Regions from separate parts of the Homo sapiens genome. Here region 2 is linked to region 1. Evidence: promoter capture Hi-C in human tissues and cell types (Jung and others, 2019). All regions are on one chromosome and are shown on one strand. The core of a region is centred on a gene start or on the middle of the fragment in contact, and the rest is flanking DNA. Distances in the headings are between cores, read along the strand shown. Region 1 holds the start of CST5 (cystatin D). Region 2 has its middle 12 kb from the start of CST2.

Evidence for each region. Contacts are between HindIII fragments. The study calls those that stand out against the background at their distance.
Region 2: a contact is called between a fragment that was not itself captured here and the fragment with the promoter of CST5 in region 1, in 2 of the 25 tissues and cell types used here (H1 embryonic stem cells and spleen).

The regions. Positions count from the first base shown.
Region 1 is chr20:23,878,290-23,882,347 of GRCh38, reverse strand. CST5 (cystatin D) reads left to right here and starts at 2,600. Exons shown (of 3, transcript NM_001900.5): 1 at 2,600-2,902. The coding sequence starts at 2,672. RefSeq lists an enhancer at 2,278-3,107. The HindIII fragment of the contact is 5,935 bases long and covers 684-4,058 here.
Region 2 is chr20:23,836,496-23,840,501 of GRCh38, reverse strand. No RefSeq gene overlaps it. Among named protein-coding and RNA genes, the nearest start is that of CST2, 12 kb to the right of the region's middle. The HindIII fragment of the contact is 4,139 bases long and covers 1-3,977 here.

The DNA.
Region 1 (4,058 bases), core at 1,351-3,850:
CATCACATACAGGGAAATAGGCCAGCACTCCAGCTCCCACCCCATACTCCACCCACCACCATATGCCTGTTATGTGGATGACCTGCATCTCCTTCCTAATGATAAAAGATAGGAGAGATTTGTATGTATTTCAGCTTACCCTCTGCACAACACATCCTCCTGAGAGTTGAGACCTAGCGGCCAGGGAAGGTGGGAGCCACAGAGGAGACCCAACTCCCACACTTGGGAGATGACCATTCTGCCCACAAGCACCTGGCCAGGGACTGCCCTCTCTTTCCCTTCTCTGGGAATCTCCCCCAATTTCCTGTCTAACTAGGAGGCATCACGTGCAGCCCTGCTTGAAGACCTTCCCTCCCTCACCCAGCAGTAAACACTATCCCTGGGCCACCTGCTGTATCTGCTGGAGTGCATGGCTTTTCTAGGGGTGCTGGATTCACAGTGGGGTGCAATGGTCACTGGGCCTTGGGTAAAAAGGTCCCCTGTCCTCATACTGAACATGAGCACCCATGAGTAATATTGTTCCCGCTGTCGGGTTCCTGCTGATGCAGCCCCAGCCATGGCGGAGCCCCAGGATTATAGCAGGTCTGGGCTGATCCTGGCCGACCCTCACCTCCACCACTCCCAGGAGAGTCCTCTGGGTGTCCTGCTAAGGCCCAGGGTTTCCTGGTGTTTCTGGCCAAGCCTGCCACCTCGCCATAAGGGCATTTGCCGCAGGATCACCTTCAGGCATGGAGGGGGGGTTGAGAGAACAAAGGGAGCAGCTGTCTGTTCAGAGCCTCCTTCCACCCTCCCTACTCCTGAAGTCACATTCCAGTCCAGGCCCACAGCATCCCGAGCTGGGGGCTTTGTCAGCCCACAGGGCACCCAACTGACCACATCCTCTCAGTCTGTGGAGAAGGAGAACTCTCAATCCTGGCAATGAAGCCACGCTGAGCAAAGGACGAAGACACACCTGGGCTCTCTCTGCAGGATTCCATTCCTGGGAAGCTCAAGGACAGGCAACAAAGGAGTCCACAGGACCAGATGTGGGCTGCCAGGGTCGGGTGGGCATGAGGGTGGGCTTCAGAGGCAGGAGGAAACCATCTGGGGTGAGGCAGATATCACAGGTGTGGACAAAGTGGTAACACAAGTGTATGCATTTATGAAATCCCCCAGATTGGGCACATACAATTAGGCATTTTATTGTGTGTAAATTCTACCTCATTCAATGTAATTTTTAAAATATTACATGAGTTTTCCAAGCAGTGTACAGAGGACCAGTGCTGGCAGCACGTCTCCCAGAGGGGAGGAGCAAGAGAGGCTCTTGGGCTCCCACATTCATCCTGTGGCTGCTGCTCCTTCTCCTGACACCCCCACCACCTGCCAGGGGTCTCCCTGCGCCTTCCACCTGGACACACCCACAGTTACCGTGAGACTCCAGGTCGTTCCCTTCCCTGCTCACACCCCCTCCAGGAGCTTCCTCTTCCTGGAGCAGGCATGCCCAGCCTTGCCTCAGGGCCTTTGCACTGACTATTCCCTGCTGCCTGGGGCTTCTCAACCTTTCCGGTCTCTTAGAGACTTCCCTGACCAGGGTCCAGTAGCACCCACCCTCTCTCTAACTGAGCGACTATAATTCCCTGATCTAAATTGTTGATCACCACTCTGCATCCTCCCACACACCCTAATGGCTGGGCTATGCAGTACCACAGCCACCAGCAGCCACTCGTGGCCACAGGGCACTTGAAATGGGGCTAGTCCACAGTGACGCTTGGTCTAACTGTAAAAAATACACAGGGAACTTCAAGACATTACACTCACACAAAAGAATGTAAACTAGCTCCTTAAGAATAGTCCTGAAGTGTTGAAGTATTTTGGATATATTAGGTTAAAGTAGAAATACCAAAATTACTTTCAGCTGTATCTTTTAACTTTTTCAAATGTGTTTTAAATTGCTCCTGGGTTTCTGTCACATCTCTGTTGGATGGCAGCTCTGCAAGTTCATGTCTACGGCTCTATTGCCCAGACTGCTTGGTGCAGGGGGAAGCTGGTGACAGGTTTGTTTATTGAATAATGAGGAGTTATGAAACGAGAACCCAGTGAACTTTACCCAAAGGTTAATTACTTTATGTTTGGCAAAGAAGTTCCCCAGAAGAGGGCATGGACAAGGTCATCCCGGAGCTTCTGAAACAGCTCCCTGCCCCAGGAATTCCCAGACCATGACCACGTGCTCCTGGATGCCCCTGACATCTGAAGACTTTAGAAGGCCAAGCCCTGTATTTCTCCCTTTCCTGTGGACATAGGTGGTCACCAGGTTTCACAGCCCAGGGAGCGGTGTCACCTCTCTGGAATCCAGAGTGAGCCAAGCTTTAGAGCACTGAGGAAGAGGGGCAGGGCTGTGGGGAGGTTGCGGTCAGGACAGGAGTGGGGAGGAGGATGAGGAGGAGGCATGGGAGGAGCGAAGGGAACTTAGGGAGGGAGGGAGGTGGTTGGGGGTGGAAAGGGAGATAGAGACAGAAGAGGAGGGGTAGAAAGAGGAGGAGGAGCCAGGGGCGGGGCCAGGGAGCAGGTGGGGTTGGGGGACACCCAAGTAGGATAAATGCACAGCTAGCTTCTGGCCTGGGCTTCCTGCCTCAGCCTTCTGCTGCTTTGCTCTCTGGGAGATCCAGCTCCTTGCTCTGTGTCCCAGTAGAACATGATGTGGCCCATGCACACCCCACTGCTGCTGCTGACTGCCTTGATGGTGGCCGTGGCCGGGAGTGCCTCGGCCCAATCTAGGACCTTGGCAGGTGGCATCCATGCCACAGACCTCAATGACAAGAGTGTGCAGTGTGCCCTGGACTTTGCCATCAGCGAGTACAACAAGGTCATTAATAAGGATGAGTACTACAGCCGCCCTCTGCAGGTGATGGCTGCCTACCAGCAGGTGCGTGCTACCACCACCCTGGGGGTCCTGAGTCCCAGCTGGGTTTTTTGCCTCACCCCCCAGAGCACTCCCAGCAAATCAACATTATCTAAACCGCAGACTCATTCAGCTTTCTCTGACTGTCTGCTGATGGTCTTCATGCCCTAGGACACTCCTTGGCCGTGAGTGCATGAGTTCAGCCCTGTCCTGTCCCCTCGGCCTCTTTTAACCTGCAGCAGCCACTGTGTCTGTACCATGACTGTGGCATTTCCCAGGGTCCAGCAGGTGTGGATGGAGACTGTGCTGACTCTGGGTGGGCTTGATGCTGCTCAGGATGAGATCCAGGCCACGAGGTTCATCTTCCTCCCTGAGTCCTCTCCACAGGGGCCACACGGGAACCTGACTCCTTGTCCTGGATAGCCCCGCTTCCCTCCCAAGTCACGCCCCTGGGCACAGCCCGTTATGGCTAGTGGCCTTCACTCTCAGGCTGGCTGACCACCCCCTACAGCCCAGGACAGCTGAGTTCCTGCTGGGGTAGAGCATGCCTGACCCTGCCTCTGCCAGCTAACGCAGAGTTAGACCTCAGCAAAATGAGGACAGCAATCACCCAGCAGAGTGAAGGAGGTGGTTGGGTCCAGAGGGAGGAAGCTTCAGCAGGGCTACCGAGCCCAGCTTGACCTACGTCCCATGGCAGAGCAGCAGTGACACAGCGACCACAGGGCTATATGGCCTGCCAGCCTTTAGAGCTCCTCCACCTTCTCTTGGAAAGTCAGAGGAGTCCAGACCAGCCCTGTTTCTCCTCCTGCAGCCCTCTCCCTGCACAGGAGGGGCATTCCCTGGTGCTGTGGTCCCTGCTGGCCTGCACTCCCTCTTAAGTGTGTCACTCACTGGGAGTGAAGCACAGAATGATGTAGATCGTTGGGCCCTGGAGCCTATTTTACAGAGCAGCAGACTGACACCGGAGGGATCACAGGACTTCCATGTGGTTCTACAGGACTTGTGTGTGGTTCCACAGGGCAAGGTCTAGCACCCTGGTCCCAGGGTCCCTCATCCCATGCTTCTCCACAGTTCTGACAAGTCATGTTTTGGGGCGGCACTGTGCAGGGAAAGCATTCAGTTCTCTTCTGAAGTTGCAACCCTAAGACATGCAGGTGTGTGACTCACTTTAGAAATATTG
Region 2 (4,006 bases), core at 659-3,158, 41 kb after region 1:
GTTTTAGGTCTAACATTTAAGTCTTTAATCCATCTTGAATTAATTTTTGTATAAGATATAAGGAAGGGATCCAGTTTCAGCTCCCTACATATAGTTAGCCAGTTTTCCCAGCACAATTTATTAAATAGAGAATCCTTTCCCCATTTTTGTTTTTGTCAGGTTTGTCAAAGATCAGATTGTTGTAGATGTGTGGAGTTATTTCTGAGGGCTCTCTTCTGTTCCATTGGTTTATATCACTGTTTTGGTACCAGTACCATGCTGTTTTGGTTACTGTAGCCTTGTAGTATAGTTTGAAGTCAGGTAGCATTATGCCTCCAGCTTTGTTCTTTTGGCTTAGGATTGACTTGGCGATGCGGGCTCTTTTTTGGTTCCATATGAACTTTAAAGTAGTTTTTTCCAATTCTGTGAAGAAAGTCATTGGTAGCTTGAAGGGGATGTCATGAATCTATGATTTACCTTGGGCATTATGGCCATTTTCAGGATATTGATTCTTCCTATCCATGAGCGTGGAATATTCTTCCATTTGTTTGTGTCCTCGTTTATTTCATTGAGCAGTAATTTGTAGTTCTCCTTGAAGAGATCCTTCACATCCCTTGTAAGTTGGATTCCTAGGTATTTTATTCTCTTTGTAGCAGTTGTGAATGGGAGTTCACTCATGATTTGACTCTCTGTTTTTCTGTGATTGGTGTTTAGGAATTCCTGTGATTTTTGCACATTGACTTTGTATCCTTAGACTTTGCTGAATTTGCTTATCAGCTTAAGGAGATTTTGGCTGAGATGATGGGGTTTTCTAAATATACAATCATGTCATCTGCAAACAGGGACAATTCACCTTCCTCATTTCCTAATTGAATACCCTTTATTTCTTTCACTTGCCTTATTGCCCTGGCCAGAACTTCCAACACTGTGTTGAATAGGAGTGGTGAGAGAGAGCATCCCTGTCTTGTGGCAGTTTTCAAAGGGAATGCTTGCAGTTTTTACCCATTCAGTATGATATCAGCTGTGGGTTTGTCATAGATAGCTCTTATTATTTTGAGATATGTTCCATCAATACCTAGTTTATTGAGACTTTTTAGCATGAAGTGCTGTTGAATTTTGTCCAAGGCCTTTTCTGCGTCTATAGAGATAATCATGTGGTTTTCGTCATTTGTTCTGATTATGTGATGGATTACGTTTATTGATTTGCGTATGTTGAACCAGCCTTGCATCCCAGGGATGAAGCCAAGTTGATCTTGGTGGATAAGCTTTTTGATATGCTGCTGGATTCAGTTTGCCAGCATTTTATTGAGGATTTTTGCACTGATGTTCATCAGGAGATTTGGTCTAAAATTCTCTTTTTTGGTTGTGTCTCTGCCAGGCTTTGGTATCGGGATGATGCTGGCCTCATAAAATGAGTTAGTGAGGATTCCCTCTTTTTCTACTGATTGGAATAGTTTCAGAAGGAATGGTACCAGCTCCTGTTTGTAACTGGTAGAATTCAGCTGTGAATCGTTCTGGTCCTGGACTTCTTTTGGTTGGTAGGCTATTAATTATAGCCTCGATTTCAGAGACTGTTATTGTTCTATTCAGGGATTCAACTTCTTCCTGGTTTAGTCTTGGGAGGGTGTATGTGTCCAGGAATTTATCCATTTCTTCTGGAATTTCTAGTTTATTTGAGTAGAGGTGTTTGTAGTATTCTCTGGTAGTAGTTTGTATTTTTGTGGGATTGGTGGTTACATCCCCTTTACCATTTTTTATTGCATCTATTTGATTCTTCTTTCTTTTCTTCTTTATTAGTCTTCCTAGCCATCTATCAATTTTGTTGGTCTCTTAAAAAAAACAGCTCTTGGATTCATTGATTTTTTGAAGAGTTTTTTGTGTCTCTATCTCCTTCGGTTCTGCTCTGTTCTTAGTTATTTCTTGCCTTCTGCTAGCTTTTTGAATTTGTTTGCTTTTATGTGTCTAGTTCTTTTAATTGTGATGTTAGGGTGTCAATTTTAGATCTTTCCTGCTTTCTCTTGTGGGCATTTAGTGATATAAATTTCCCTCTACACACTGCTTTGAATGTGTCCCAGAGATTCTGGTATGTTGTGTCTTTGTTCTCATTGATTTCAAAGAACATCTTTATTTCTGCCTTCATTTTGTTATTTACCCAGTAGTCATTCATGAGCCGGTTGTTCAGTTTCCATGTAGTTATATGATTTTGACTGAGTTTCTTAATGCTGAGTTCTAATTTGATTGTACTGTGGTGTGAGAGACAGTTTGTTGTGATTTCTGTTCTTTTACATTTGCTGAGGAGTGCTTTACTTCCAACTATGTGGTCAATTGTGGAATAAGTGTGAGATGGTGCTGAGAAGAATGTATATTCTGTTGATTTGGGGTGGAGAGTTCTGTAGATGTCTATTAGGTCTGCTTGGTGCAGAGCTGAGTTCAAGTCCTGAATATCCTTGTTAACCTTCTGTCTAATTGATCTGTGTAATATTGACAGTGGGGTGTTAAATTATCCCATTATTATTGTGTGGGAGTCTGAGTCTCTTTGTAGGTCTCTAAGGACTTGTTTCATGAATCTGGGTGCTCCAGTATTGGGTGCATATATATTTAGGAGAGTTAGCTCTTCTCGTTGAATTAATCCCTTTACCATTATGTAATGGCCTTCTTTGTCTCTTTTGATCTTTGTTGGTTTAAAGTCTGTTTGATCAGAGACTAGAATTGCAACTCCTGCTTTTTTTTCTTTCCATTTGCTTGGTAGATCTTCCTCCATCCTTTTATTTTGAGCCTATATCTGTCTCTGCATGTGAGATGGGTCTCCTGAATATAGCACACTGTTGGGTCTTCACTCTTTGTCCAATTTGCCAGTCTGTGTCTTTTAATTGGGGCATTTAGCCCATTTACATTTAAGGTTAATAGCGTTATGTGTGAATTTGATCCTGTCATTATGATGTTAGCTGGCTATTTTGCCCATTAATTGATGCAGTTTCTTCCTAGCATGGATGGTCTTTACAATTTGGCATGTTTTTGCAGTGGCTGCTACTGGTTGTTCCTTTCCATGTTTAGTGCTTCCTTCAGGAGCTCTTGTAAGGCAGGCCTGGTGGTGACAAAATCTCTCAGCATTTGCTTTTTCTGTAAGGGATTTTATTTCTCCCTCACTTATGAAGCTTAGTTTGGCTGGATATGAAATTCCAGGTTGAAAATTCTTTTCTTTAAGAATGTTGAATATTGGCGCCCACTCTCTTCTGGCTTGTAGAGTCTCTTTTGAGAGGTCCACTGTTAGTCTAATGGGCTTCCCTTTGTGGGTAACCCAACCTTTCTCTCTAGCTTCCCTTAACATTTTTTCCTTCATTTCAACCTTGGTGAATCTGACCATTATGTGTCTTGGGGTTGCTCTTCTCAAGGTGTATCTTTGTGGTGTTCTCTGTATTTCCTGAATTTGAATGTTGGCCTGCCTTGCTAGGTCTGGGAAGTTCTCCTGGATAATATCCTGAAGAGTATTTTCCAGCTTGATTCCATTCTCCCCATCACCTTCAGGCACACCAATCAAACGTAGATTTGGTCTTTTCACATAGCCACATATTTCTTGGAGGCTTTGTTCATTTGTTTTTACTCTTTTTTCTCTAAACTTCTCTTCTTGCTTCATTTCATTAATTTGATCTTCAATCACTGATATCCTTTCTTCCACTTGATCAATTTGGCTACTGAAGCTTGTGCATGCATCATGTATGTCTCGTGCCATGGCTTTCAGCTCCATCGGGTCATGTAAGGTCCTCTCTACCCTGTTAATTCTAGTTAGCCATTCATCTAATCTTTTCCCAAGATTTTTAGCTTCCTTATGATGGGTTCAAATATTCTGCTTTAGCTCAGAGAAGTTTGTTGTTAGTAATCTTCTGAAGCCTACTTCTATCAACTCATCAGCTCATCAAAATCATTCTCCATCCACCTTTGTTTTGTTGCTGGCGAGGAGCTGCAATCCTTTGAAGGAGAAGTGATGCTCTGGTTTTTAGAATTTTCAGCTTTTCTGCTCTGGTTTCTC